4 separate regions of the Homo sapiens genome follow, and regions 2, 3 and 4 are each linked to region 1. The links are contacts of gene promoters, found by promoter capture Hi-C in blood cells and fetal thymus (Javierre and others, 2016). All regions are on one chromosome and are shown on one strand. Each heading gives the region's core, a stretch centred on a gene start or on the middle of the fragment in contact. The rest is flanking DNA. Distances are from core to core; before and after follow the strand shown.

Region 1 (3,400 bases), core at 500-2,999:
TTTAGGGAATGAGCTCACTGCCCTCTCCACCCACAGCAGGACACCTGGCAGCCAAAGCCCCACACCTGCCCCTATCCCAGGACTGGGACGAGGAAGCCCCAGGGTGAGGGGTGGCCCTGATCTGAGCCCTAACCTGGTGGGGGTGGCAGGCAGCCCCAGGTGTGTGGATGACCTGAGCCAGGCACAGACAGCTGCCAGGTGGGGAGGAGCAGAGGTCATGGGGATGTAGGGAAAGGGTTTGGGGGTTCCTCCCACAGGGCCACTGTGTGAGACAATTTGTCACTTTCTTACAAAACTAAACACACTCTGACCACAGCATCCAGCAATCTCACTCCTTAGAGTTTACCAAAATGAGTTGAGAACTTATGTCTACAGACACCTGCACATGAATATTTGTAGTAGCTTTATTCATAATTGCCCAAACCTGGGAGCAACCAAGATGTCTTTCCATAGGTGAATGGATAAATAAACCATGGTACATCCAGACAATGGAATACCATTCAGTGTTAAAAAATAAGTGAGCTGGCCATGCAAGGTGGCTCACGTCTGTAATCCCAGCACTGTGGGAGGCAGAGGCAGGCGGATCACTTGAGCCCAAGTGTTTGATACCAGTGTGGGCAACATGGTGAGGCCCTGTCTCACAAAAAATACAAAACTTATCGGGGTGTGCACCAGCACCTGTAGTCCCAGCTATTTGGGAGGCTGAGGTGAGAAAATCACAGGAGCCCAGGAGGTTGAGGCTGTAGTAGCTGTGATTTCACCAGTGCATTCCAGCCTGGGTGACAGAGCAAGACTCTGTCTCAAAAAAAAAAAAAAAAAAAAAAAGAAGTGAACTATCAAACCACAAAAGACATGGAAGAACCAAAGTGCGTATTACTAAAAAAGAAGTTGAAAAGGCTACATAATGTATGAGTCCAGCTCTGTGACATTTTGGAAAAGGCAAAATTAAGGAGACAGTCAAAAGATTCCTGGTTGCCAGGGGCTGGGAGAGGGAGTGATGAAAATGCAGAACACAGATGAATCGGGGCGGAGAAACCCGTCTGTACAATATTAGAGTGGTGGGTCTGCATGATTATACATGTGTCCAAACCTGCAGAATGCACAGCACCGGAGGAAAGCATAATGGAAACTGCAGAGGGCGATGATGATAATAACAACGTGTAACAAATGGCTGGGACGGGAGGACTGGGGAAGGCTGTGCACCTGCAGGAGCAGGGGAGCGGTGGGAGAGCTCCATGCTTTTGGCTCAATTTTGCTATGAACCTAAAACTGCTGTAAAAAATAGAGTCTACTGAAAAAACAAGTGTTAATTTATAAGCGTCTTGTTTAAAGAGCGAAGAGATGAACCACAAAGGGGAAAATGTGTTTAAACAATAACTAATTGACAATTGGCTGGTTCTTAAAATTCAGAGAACTTTAAGACAGAGACAGCAAAGCAGGGATCACGTTTTACAAACGCGGCAGGACCAGGACGTCGTGCCCACGACGGGCCAGCAACCACAGGCTGGATGCTCACCCTGTGCCAGCCTGCAGACGGAGAGCACCCACCCCAATCTCCAGCCCCCAGAGGAGCTGCCTCTCCAGGGCCTTCCTGCAGGTGCCCAGGGGCTGCACATGGCCCTCCTTGGAGGGAGCTGGTGACTCAGCACTTTCATTTCCTGGAAACTGAGGCTCATGGGAGATATGCAGATGAGCCCAGAGCACCATGGGAAATGGCCCTTTATATACCCAAATGGGCTCTGCCTCCTCCTTTCCCTGGGTGCCCACATGAACAGAGACACCAGGATGGTGAGATCTCCCGAGGAGGGGTCTCTGAGGAGGGGTCTCGGAGACACGGCCTGGTGCTGGGTGAGGGGTTGGGAGGCTGAAGCGGGGCCAGGATTCCTCAGGTTCCCTCAGTTTCCCTCAAATTTCCCTCAGTTTCCCTCAGGTTCCCTAAGGTTCTCCAAGTTCCCTCAAATTTCCCTCAGTTTCCCTCAGGTTCCCTCAGTTTCCCTCAAGTTTCCCTCAGTTTCCCTCAGGTTCCCTCAGTTTCCCTCAGGTTCCCTCAGTTTCCCTCAAGTTTCCCTCAGTTTCCCTCAGGTTCCCTCAGTTTCCCTCAAGTTTCCCTCAGGTTCCCCCAGTTTCCCTCAAGTTTCCCTCAGCTTCCCTCAGGTTCCCCCAGTTTCCCTCAGGTTCCCTCAGTTTCCCTCAAGTTTCCCTCAGTTTCCCCCAGTTTCCCTCAAATTTCCCTCAGTTTCCCTCAGGTTCCCTCAGTTTCCCCCAGCTTCCCTCAGGTTCCCTCAGTTTCCCTCAAGTTCCCCTCAGTTTCCCCCAGTTTCCCTCAGGTTCCCCCAGTTTCCCTCAAGTTCCCCTCAGGTTCCCCCAGTTTCCCTCAAGTTTCCCTCGGGTTCCCCCAGTTTCCCTCAGGTTCCCCCAGTTTCCCTCAGTTTCCCTCAAGTTTCCCTCAGGTTCCCCCAGTTTCCCTCAGGTTCCCTCAGTTTCCCTCAAGTTTCCCTCAGGTTCCCCCAGTTTCCCTCAGGTTCCCTCAGGTTCCCCCAGTTTCCCCCAGGTTCCCCCAGTTTCCCCCAGTTTCCCTCAAGTTTCCCTCAGGTTCCCCCAGTTTCCCTCAGGTTCCCTCAGTTTCCCTCAAGTTTCCCTCAGGTTCCCCCAGTTTCCCTCAGGTTCCCTCAGTTTCCCTCAGGTTCCCCCAGTTTCCCCCAGGTTCCCCCAGTTTCCCCCAGTTTCCCTCAAGTTTCCCTCAGGTTCCCCCAGTTTCCCTCAGGTTCCCTCAGGTTCCCCCAGTTTCCCCCAGTTTCCCTCAGGTTCCCCCAGTTTCCCTCAGGTTCCCTCAGTTTCCCTCAGGTTCCCCCAGTTTCCCTCAGTTTCCCCCAGTTTCCCTCAAGTTTCCCTCAGGTTCCCCCAGTTTCCCTCAGGTTCCCTCAGTTTCCCTCAGGTTCCCCCAGTTTCCCTCAGGTTCCCTCAAGTTTCCCTCAGGTTCCCCCAGTTTCCCTCAGGTTCCCTCAGGTTCCCTCAGTTTCCCTCAGGTTCCCCCAGTTTCCCTCAGTTTCCCCCAGTTTCCCTCAAGTTTCCCTCAGGTTCCCCCAGTTTCCCTCAGGTTCCCCCAGTTTCCCTCAGGTTCCCTCAGTTTCCCTCAGGTTCCCCCAGTTTCCCTCAGGTTCCCTCGGGTTCCCTCAAGTTTCCCTCAGGTTCCCCCAGTTTCCCTCAGGTTCCCTCAGTTTCCCTCAAGTTTCCCTCAGGTTCCCCCAGTTTCCCTCAGGTTCCCCCAGTTTCCCTCAAGTTTCCCTCAGGTTCCCCCAGTTTCCCTCAGGTTCCCCCAGTTTCCCTCAGGTTCCCTCAGTTTCCCCCAGTTTCCCTCAGGTTCCCCCAGTTTCCCTCAGGTTCCCTCAGTTTCCCCCAG
Region 2 (3,400 bases), core at 370-2,869, 210 kb after region 1:
GATCTAAGTTGTATTGTTTAAGGATGCAGCCAAGTGGTAAAACGTAGTAAATCCCAGCAAAACTGTGGTCACTCTAAGAAGTCAGTAGTAATGGTGGCCTCTTGGAGAAGTAGAGGTAGTGGGCTGAGAGGGCCCATACGAGCATGTTGGGGATGCTGGTGGTGCCCTGTCTCTTGACCTAGTATACTGATGTTCACTTTGCAAAAATTTGTTCAGCTGACATAAATGTATCATGAGCTTTTCTGTCTGTTTTATATGTTTTTCAATTTAAAAAGTTTTTAGAAACATAGAAAAAAATCACAGGGAAGTCAACAGCACAGGCACAGTGACGAAGGCTTTGTTAGCTGTTTAAAGGAAGAGACGTAGCGGGCAGTGTGGCATGCACCTGTAGTCACAGCTGCTCGGGAGGCTGAGGCAGAATCACTTGAGTTCAAAGCTGTGGTGAGCTACGATCAATCCTTGAATAGCCACTGTACTCTAGCCTGGGCAACATAGCAAGACCCTGTCTAAAAAGAAAGAATTAGGTATGTGGAGGGTCTTCTTGTGATTACATTTTTCTGTTTAAAAAAAAAAGCGATAGGCTGGGCGCAGTGGCTCACGCCTGTAATCCCCAGCACTTTGGGAGGCCAAGGTGGGCGGATCACGAGGTCAGGAGATCGAGACCATCCTGGCTAACACGGTGAAATCCCGTCTGTACTAAAAATACAAAAAATTAGCTGGGCGTGTTGGCAGGCGCCTGTAGTCCCAGCTACTCGGGAGGCTGAGGCAGGAGAATGGCGTGAACCCGGGAGGTGGAGCTTGCAGTGAGCCGAAATCGCGCCACTGCACTCCAGCCTGAGTGACAGAGCGAGACTCTGTCTCAAAAAAAAAAGAGAGACAAATTTGACTTCGGGAGGCCAAGGTGGGCATATCACTTGAGCTCAGGAGTTTGAGATCAGATTGGACAAAAAAGCAAGATCCTGTCTCTACAAAAATACCAAAAATTAGCCAGGCATAGTGGCATGAGCTTGGAGTCCCAGCTGCTGGGGCGGCTGAGGTGGGAGGATCACCTGAGCCCTGGGAGTTCAGGCTTCAGTGAGCCGTGATCACACCACTGCACTCTGGCCTGGGCGACAGAGTGAGACCGTGTCCCCAGAAAAGAAAAGACAAACGTCCCTCTGCCCACTCTGAGCTGTCAGCGCTGAACGCGGCCTGTGCTATGGAAGCCCATGTGGGCGCCTCTGATATCCTTGCCTCCTGTCTGTCAGCCTGCCTGTTTCCCATTCCATTTGTGTTTATCCTTGAACAGTATCTATAATTGTTCATTGTAAAACTCCATGTATATAGTATCATCTTGAATGTATTTTTTCATCCGACATTATCTGTTGCTCTTCATCCATGTTGACAAGCGTGTTGCCCAGAAGTTCACAACCAGGAGTGATTCCCTTTCCCAGTGGGCTCGTGCCTGTAAGTGTGGGTTTCAAGTTGTCACTATGACAGGGAGCCACCAGTGGCCTTGAAAGAGCCAGGACCAGGGATGCCAGCCTGTCAGCGGGGCACTCAGCAGCCAGGATGTCTCCAACCCCAAGGTGAAGCCTCCATGGGGCTCTTCGTGGGCCAGGGGGCTCCTCCTCATGGGCGGCAGGGTCTCCTTGTGGATGGGTATTTGGTGAGTCCCAGGGGCTCTGGGCAGCCCTGGCCACCCCTGGTGCTTATGCCTGGGGAGGGGTGCTGCTGGCTGTGAGCCCTCAGCCAGCCTTACCCACCCCTCGCCTGTACCCCTGGGGTAGCTGACAGGATCTGGTCGTGGTTGAGGTGCTTTGCCTTGGACTCCACTGAGGTCAAGCAGCCTTTATGTCTTCATTTTTGACATTTGGATTTTTTCCTTATGTAATTTTTAATATTCTTTATAGTTTTCCATTTGTTTCCTCCATGTTTTCGAATTGTATTACTTTCATAGTAAGAAAAATGAGGTATCAGGCTGGGCGCAGTGGCTCACACCCGTAATCCCAGCACGTTGGGAGGCCGAGGCAGGCGGATCACCTGAGGTCAGGAGTTTGAGACCGGCCTGGCCAACATGGTGAAACCCCGTCTCTACTAAAACCACAAAAATTAGCCGGGCGCGGTGGCAGGCGCCTGTGATCCCAGCTACTCGGGAGGCTGAGGCAGGAGAACCGCTTGAACTCAGAGGGCGGAGACTGCAGTGAGCCAAGATCGCGTCACTGTACTCCAGCCTGGGCGACACAGCGAGACTCTGTCTCAAAAAAAAGACAAATGAGGTATCAGAGGAACACTTAAAAGCACTGAGAATCTTTAAATCTAGTAAATTTAATACAAAATATGGTAACTTCAATATTCGTTTTGTGTTTGTTTTTTAAATACAGGATGATTCAAAGCCGCCTTACTCCTACGCGCAGCTGATAGTTCAGGCGATTACGATGGCTCCCGACAAACAGCTCACCCTGAACGGGATTTATACACACATCACTAAAAATTATCCCTACTACAGGACTGCGGACAAGGGCTGGCAGGTAAATGCCTTCAGTTTGTTGTTAAATAGAGGCTGATGGATACCGAGAAGAAAGTGGAGCGGCTGCTGTCTGGAACACAGGCACAGGATAGGAAGGTAGAAGGGGGGGTTGGAGCCTCCCGTGCTGAGAGGAAGAGGAGTTGGGGGCCGGTGCTGCCATGCTCTGCCTCACCTTCTTTGTGTGGAGCAGAAGGAAGCGTGGTTCTGGAGGAGCGTCTAGGCCTGCATGCTTTACTGTTGTGGAAATTCATGTGTCTGCATAGGATTTGTGAAGTGTGGATTGTTTGAGATATTTCCCTTTGACCAATGCAGTTCATATTTGAAATGTAGGAGAAATTTAAAACCCAGCCTATCCTTCCCTTTGGCATTCTCCTGTCTTCCTCATCTAATCCTGCTAATGGACAGAAGTTTTGAAGTTTGCAGAGACAGTTTTCAAACCGCATTTTACCAAGGAACACTTAGAAGACATCTTAACCAGTTGGCCGGGGTAAAAAACAGATGAACGTGGTGTGCCCTGTCTCAGCCGGGGAGCCCACCTGGTCGTGGAACCCCGGGGCTACCCCCAAGAGACACTTTGAAATCTGCAAAATATTCCCTTTGGTCAGCTCACACACCAATAATTTTTTTTTTTTTTTTTGAGTCAGAGTCTCGCTCTGTTATGCCAATAATTTTAACCCTTTAGATTATGTAGGTTTTTTCTCTGTGTATCTGTGTTGTGTTGGCTGTTTACTGGATGTATATGAGAATCTTGCTATTTGAAATAATTTGGCAGTGGGTAGGTTTGAAATATAGAATATTAAAAACATAGAGAAGAAATGTATGTATGCTTATAGTTTTTTAATTCATTAAGTAACCAGGAACATCTATAGAATTTCTTTGAGGCTTTAATGA
Region 3 (3,400 bases), core at 573-3,072, 170 kb after region 1:
GAACTCCTGGACTCAAGCGATCTTCCCACCTCAGTCTCCCGTGTAGCTGAGAGTACAGGCCTGCATGGCCATTCAGGGCTAATTTATTTTTTTTTGGACGTGGGGTCTCGCTATGTTGCCCAGGCTGGTCGCAAATTCCTGTCCTCAAGCAGTCCCCCCACCTCAGTCTGCCAAAGTGCTGGGATTACAGGTGCGAGCCACCCTGCCTGGCCTATACATGTTTTCAAGTGCTGATCATTTATTAATAGTGAAGTGATTGTAGTCAGGCGTGGCTCCCCCATTTACTGGCAGGTCCCATTTAGACCTGCGGTTGCAGAAGTACAGCACAGCTCTGTGCATGATTGGTGGAAATATTCCAGGAGATGAGGCTGTTACAGTAACAGCAGATTTTTCCATTGTGAAAATGTAACTATTCCTGCTTTGTTGAAGAGAAAGATTTTTTTGGAAAATGAAGAAAAGAGGATTTCTAAATTAAGGAAGCTTTTAGTGAAAGCAGTTGGCATTTGGGTAGTAGTATTCTTATCTGTTTAACATTTTTGTGGGGCTCTTGTTTTCTTTTATGTTTGGTTTTTGGAGCAATTTATAATATCTTAAATAATGACAGTCATAGTAAATCAACCTCCACACTTTTTCATGAGGAATTTTTGAATTTGCTGCTAAAATGCAGTACAGGAGGGCATGTTTAAGGCACACATTACCATCTCTACAATGTGAAGCGGGCTTTGAGCACGGAACAAGGTGTTACAGCTGTACCTAGGAAGTGGTGGCAGGGAGACCAGAAAGTACCTCGTGCCAGAGCCACAGCCCCTGCGGCCCTGCTTTCCTCGTGCACGTCAGTTTAGAGTGCACATTGGGCTTCAAACGCCTCTGCTGATTTGTTAGGAACAGAGAAGGTGCTCTGCTGAGAATTCCGTAGATTTCTAGACAGTATTTGGTTTTTGCTGCAGTTTGTCATTTGAGATGGAATGCTTGTGTTCTTTGTCCTGTGAAGGGCATTGGAGTACGACACCGGGGTGAGTCTGCCTCCTTCCCCTCCCTGGGACGTATGACAGTGTCTGGAGGCACATTTGGTTGGCATAGACTGGGAGGACGGGTGCTACTGGCATCTAGTGGACAGAGGCCAGGGATGCCACTGAAAAATCTTACAACGCACAGGACGCAGGAGGGGAGAGCCGCCTGTTGCGTAGCAACCTGGCAGCTGATAATATAATAAAAGTTGGTTATGACTCTTGGTCCTACTGGTGGTAAGTTTTAATAATTTTTTTTACAGATGATTCCTGCTTAAAACCTTTATGCTACCAAAGCATCTGTTCAAATTATACTTGAAAGCGCCTTTTTTTTTTTTTTTTTTTTTTGAGACAGGGTCTTGCTCTGTTTCCCAGGCTGAAGTGCAGTGGTGTGATCTTGGCTCATTGCAGTGTCCACCTCCCGGGTTCAAGCGATTCTCCTGCCTCAGCCTCCTGAGTAGCTGGAATTACAGGCACGTGCCACCACGCCGGCTAATTTTTTTTTTTTTTTTTTCAAGATGGAGTTCTGCTCTGTCGTCCAGGCTGGAATGCAGTGGCACGATCTTGGCTCACTGCAACCTCCGCCTCCCAGGTTCAAGTGATTCTCCTGCCTTAGCCTCCTGAGTACCTGGGATTACAGGCGCGTGCCCACTCCCAGCTAATTTTTGTATTTTTAATAGACAGGGTTTCACCATGTTGGCCAGGCTGATCTCGGACTCCTGACCTCAGGTGATCCGCTTGCCTCGGCCTCCCAAAGTGCTGGGATTACAGGCGTGAGCCATGGCGCCCCACCTGAAAGTGCCTTTTGTAAAACAGAGCCTGGAGGTTGAGACTCATTGCGGAGTCACTAGATAACTCCTCCCTTTGCAGCTTTGAAAGGACACTCTCGGAATGCAGTTCTGTCTTGCTATCCCTGGTTGTAAGAAGATACAACTAGGTCCCTTAAGGCAGTAGTAGCCTAACATTGTTACGTTTGTAATGTGTTCTCTTAGTCGTATTTATTGACTTAATTAGGCTGATACAGATATTCTGAGAACTAGGAATACCTTAGTTACATTGATACAGATATTCTGAGAACGTTTATCTTTAGTGGGAAAAAAGACAATGAGCTGTAGCTGAATTGTTCCAGTTTTTTGTGTTCCTGGTTCCACTGGAGAATGAACTGATGATGTGACGTCATTGTTAGCACAGCCACGCTGGGAAAGATGGCTCTCAAGGTGCTGTTTTTAATGGTGTTTAGTCATTAATAATTGGCAGTAAGAAAACTCATCTTTTGACTTTCATTTGGACAGATGGAATATAGAAAACCTGAAATAGGCCGGGCACGTTGGGTCACGCCTGTCATCCCAGCACTTTGGGTGGCTGAGGCAGGCGGATCTCCTGAGATCGGGAGTTCGAGACCAGCCTGACCAACATGGAGAAACCCTGTGTCTACTAAAAATACAAAATTAGCTGGGTGTGGTGGCGCATGCCTCTAATACCAGCTACTCGGGAGGCTAAGGCAGGAGAATCACTTGAACTCCAGCCTGGGCAACAAGAGTGAAACTCCATCTAAAAAAAAAAAAAAAAAAAAAGAGAGAGAAAACCCGAAATAAGGAAATTTAAAACTACTGATGTGTTTTTTTTTTTTTTTTTTGAGACAGAGTCTCGCTCTGTCACCCAGGCTGGAGTGCAGTGGCGCCATCTCAGCTCACTGCAACGTCCTCCTCCCGGGTTCAAACAATTCTCCTGCCTCAGTCTCCCGAGTAGCTGGGATTACAGGCGCCACCACCACGCTCTGCTAATTTTTGTATTTTTAGTAGAGACGGGGTTTCACCATGTGGGCCAGGCTGGTCTCAAACTCCTGACTGCAGGTGATTCCCCTGTCTTGGCCTCCCAAAGTGTTGGGATCACAGGCCAAAGTGTGAGTCACTGTGCCCGGTCTACTGTTGTGTTTTCAAAGTGGCTTTTTTGGTCTTGTATTTTTCAGAATACGATAGCATTTTGAGTATATAGAGAATGTTTTAAAAATTCTGTGTTTTTGCCATTTCTGAGCTGTTGGAGGATGTTAGGATAATGAACATCATTTTGATAGCCATTTGAGCTGGGTGGAAGAAGATGTGGTTTAAATATAAAATGTCTGTTCTGGGTCCTCCTTGAGGACCTGTTCCCACTTTGCCAAGCTTCCCCCTGGACTTGTCCACACGTGATTAAACACAGCTGAAATCCTGTACACTTGAGTGAACTGCATGTAAGTGTTCTGTGGGCTGGGCTGATTCATCTTTACATTGTACACTTCCTGGGGTTGTAGCCTTTGACCCCTGGGTGACCTCCTCCAGGAATTCTGGGTACTCGATAGGACTCAAATGTTTATTGCTGAATTGGTTGGATGTGGGCTTCTGAGTTTGGATTGG
Region 4 (3,400 bases), core at 490-2,989, 150 kb before region 1:
GCTGAGGTGGGTGGGTCATTCAAACTCAGGAGTTCCACGCTGCAGTGAGTGGTCTATTAAAAGATAAAGTTTCTTCTGGCTGGTCCTAGCTGCCCCCAACCCTTTAGAGGTCCAAGTATGAGCTCGATTTGGACACAGAAATCCCCCACAACTCTTCTCTGGTGTCCACACAGGGGAACTGCATGGCCTAAAAGGGCCACACCCAGTTGGGGGACAAGCACAAACTTCCGGCCTGGTGGGACATGGCCGGGGTGCTGCTGCCAGAGCAGGAAAAAGCCCCAGCCTGTCTTAGGGTACCTCTGTATCTCCGGGCACCTCTGCATCTCGGGGCACAGCAATGGTTGTACAAAGTCCCAACTCCCAGAGGGAGCGGGTACAAGGGCACAGCCAGGCTGAGCACCGGCTGTGACGAAGCACAAGGAGGAGGTGGGTAAGGGGCTGCAAGACCCGTGGGCCCCTCCAGAAAGGGCTGGTCAGCAGGGCACACCCGCTGGGGGCACGAGGGCTCCCTGGGGGTCCTGAGACGGCGCTTCTCTGACGAGGCTCTGGAGCAAAGACGGTCTCCTCCATCCCACATGCTTCCTGCGATGCAACCCCCGCGCCCAGCACCCTAGGACCATCACGCCACCTGGACCACCTCAGCCTGGCTCCTCCAAGCTGCTGCGTGCCCACCCATTGCCGGAGCTAACAGGGTCCCTACCGACCATCTCAGCACTCTCCCACGCTCCTGTTCCTCGTCTCCCTCAGCTCCTACAACGGCCCCACCGTCCACCCCGTGTAATGATCCTTGACCTCTTGCTGTCTCCCACCTTGTGCCCACACCTCGGCCACCACAGTGTCTTACCACAAGAGACCTCAACTGGCCTCTGCTGTGCACTCCCACTTTTTTGGCTGCCAAAGGAATCTTTTCAAAAATGCTTTACCAGGGCCGGGCGCAGTGGCTCATGCCTGTAATCCCAGGACTTTGGGAGGCCGAGGCGGGCGGATCATAAGGTCAGGAGATTGAGACCATCCTGGCTAACACGGTGAAACCCCGTCTCTACTAAAAATACAAAAAATTAGCTGGGCGTGGTGGTGGGCGCCTGTAGTCCCAGCTACTTGGGAGGCTGAGGCAGGAGAATGGCGTGAACCCCGGAGGCGAAGCTTGCAGTGAGCTGAGATCGCACCACTGCAGTCCGGCCTGGGCAACAAAGAGAGACTCCATCTCAAGAAAAAAAAAAGGCTTAACCAGGCTTCCCATTCCACTGAGGACATCTGGACCCCAGGCTCCTGCCTGTCGCTGCCACGTGCCCTCAGAGCCTGGGATGTGTGGCAGGTGCCGCTCTGTCTGCAAGGTTCCTCCTAACCGCAGGGCAGGCTCCTCCTGCCAGTGGGACCTCAACCTGAACATCACTGCAGGGAAGCTTTCCTAACTTCCATCTCACGTTGGCACAACGCCATCACCCCAGTGTCGGGTGTAGTGAGTCCCACTGTCTGGCACAGTCTTGGCGACTGAAACATTTTGTACACAGAGGACATGCACACACCTGTGCACACACCTGTGCACACACAGGGAAAGAATTGGACTATCAGCAAATACACATTAAATGATGGAACACCACTGTGATCTCTGATGACTCAGAACCCTTCACACAGTGCCCGTGAGTCATGACAACGGTTCTCTGCAGAGCCTGAGGTCTGCGAGGTCTACGGGCCTCTTCTCTGAGGGACTGCTGTGGCCCCCGTCCTGTACCAGCTGCCCTGCCACTGGGCTTGCCTCCTTAACTCATTGGTCGCAGCCACCCATGGGGGTTGCCGTTCTGAGAATCTGATCATGCAATCTTATCTGGCCTCAAATGTGCCCGCGACTCCTGACCATTTTCAAAATAAAGTCCGATCTCCTTGGCACAGCGTATGAAGACAGACCGAGGACACGGCCCAGCCTGCGTGGCTCCAGCTGCTCCCTGCAGGCCCAGAGCAGCCTTTATCTGCCAGTTCCTGTGCACGTGCTACTCCAGGTCCCCATGCCCCCATCTCCCCACTGGGTGAGGTTCCTTCCCACCAGGTCTCAGGACTCAGCGGGTCACCCTGTTTTCAAAAGCTTCAGGCAGCCAGGACAGGCAGATGGCACGTACCACCCCCTCTATGTGAGATGGGTGCTCCCAGGCCTCTGTGCTCTGCACAGAAGAGCAGCCTGAAAAATCCATACAGCAAGTGACTCGGTGCAGCACCCGGTGAGAGCCCAGCATCTCCAGCGCTTTATCCATCACACTCAGGACCCATAAGAAGCCCCACACACCAAGGGCCTGTAAGTCAGCCGGGCTCGGCTCGCCTTTCCTTCTGACCTCATCATAGAACGGCCTGCTCTGTTTCTGTACAAATCCCATCTCGGGATGATCCCCAAAGCCCCAAGGCTGAGATTAATTGGCTTTCAAAAGCACGGACTCAGCATCTGGACGCAATCTGCCTGTCGGCCAGCAGGCGTCCCCAGCAAGCACCTGGTTTCAAGAAGGACCATGAAGCTTCCGGGTTGGGGAGCGGCAGGAGAAGCCGCCGGGGAGGGAAGGCCTCGCTGTGCGTTCACCCTCTTTCAGGAGAACCAGTGGGGCTCCCTGAACCAGCCAGCTCCCAGCAGGGGCTGGAACAGCATGGGTGGGCATCCCATCACTTTGATTTTCTCATTTTAAAAATACTGAGCTGAGCTAACGGTGATGTTGTAGGTTTACCTGTTGTGGTACAATGACACATCATGGTTTTCTTGCACAGTTCCTGGCTCATAACTCTCACACGTCACAGTCTTTTGTTGCAATGTTGGGCGTGTCAGGCCTCAGGAAACAGAATCCTTCCAGGTCTCCACTCTCACCTGACTTTCCATTGTAGGTCATAAGATCCTCCCCAGAGCTCCCACCCTCTACCCTGGGGGAAGGAATGCTGACTTCAGGAAGCCTCCCTAAACACCCAAGAGGACAGGGTGTGGAGAGGTTCCTGGGGAGTGGTGGGTGGGGTGTGGGGGGGTCCTCCAGGAAGCCTCTTCCCCCATATCTCCCCTTACGCATCTCCTCATCTGTATCCTCTGTAATACCCTTTATAATAAACTGTTACACGTATGTGTTTCCCTGGGTTCTGTGAGTCACCCCAGCAAATCAATCGAACCCAAAGAGGGGGCTGTGGGAACCCCAACTTGAAGCCAGTGGTCAGTCAGAAGTTCCGGAGGCCAGGACTCGCGACTGGTGTCAGAAGCGGGCAGTCTTTGAACCACCATTGCAAAATTATAACTCAGACAGTGAAAGAGATCTGACCTAACCAATTCCATCGTGCTTCTAACCTCCAAGCTCTCCTTGTTCATTCCTGGGTGTAGGCCGAACTAAGTTTAGGAGGAACTTAGTTTATAGTTTGAAACAAAGACAGTAACAGCCCTTTC

Evidence for each region. Contacts are between HindIII fragments. The CHiCAGO score rates a contact against its expected background, and 5 or more counts as called.
Region 2: a fragment that was not itself captured here is called in contact with the fragment with the promoter of TEX19 in region 1 in 6 of 17 cell types (activated CD4 T cells, naive CD8 T cells, naive B cells and 3 more); the score reaches 8.5 in activated CD4 T cells.
Region 3: a fragment that was not itself captured here is called in contact with the fragment with the promoter of TEX19 in region 1 in 6 of 17 cell types (naive CD8 T cells, activated CD4 T cells, total B cells and 3 more); the score reaches 7.8 in naive CD8 T cells.
Region 4: a fragment that was not itself captured here is called in contact with the fragment with the promoter of TEX19 in region 1 in 1 of 17 cell types (activated CD4 T cells); the score reaches 7.9 in activated CD4 T cells.

The regions. Positions count from the first base shown.
Region 1 is chr17:82,357,498-82,360,897 of GRCh38, forward strand. It overlaps TEX19 (testis expressed 19), which reads left to right and starts at 1,750. Exons shown (of 2, transcript NM_207459.4): 1 at 1,750-1,788. RefSeq lists a silencer at 2,936-3,230. The HindIII fragment of the contact is 12,499 bases long and covers 1-3,400 here.
Region 2 is chr17:82,569,361-82,572,760 of GRCh38, forward strand. It overlaps FOXK2 (forkhead box K2), which reads left to right. Exons shown (of 9, transcript NM_004514.4): 4 at 2,364-2,510. Among named protein-coding and RNA genes, the nearest start is that of FOXK2-AS1, 17 kb to the right of the region's middle. RefSeq lists an enhancer at 1,619-2,118. The HindIII fragment of the contact is 5,606 bases long and covers 1-3,400 here.
Region 3 is chr17:82,527,886-82,531,285 of GRCh38, forward strand. The region is part of intron 1 of FOXK2 (forkhead box K2); the gene reads left to right. Among named protein-coding and RNA genes, the nearest start is that of FOXK2, 9.9 kb to the left of the region's middle. The HindIII fragment of the contact is 2,689 bases long and covers 479-3,167 here.
Region 4 is chr17:82,203,576-82,206,975 of GRCh38, forward strand. The region is part of intron 1 of CCDC57 (coiled-coil domain containing 57); the gene reads right to left. Among named protein-coding and RNA genes, the nearest start is that of CCDC57, 7.6 kb to the right of the region's middle. RefSeq lists enhancers at 1,614-2,415, 2,192-2,371, 2,298-2,592, 2,416-3,217, 2,702-2,761 and 1 more. The HindIII fragment of the contact is 677 bases long and covers 1,402-2,078 here.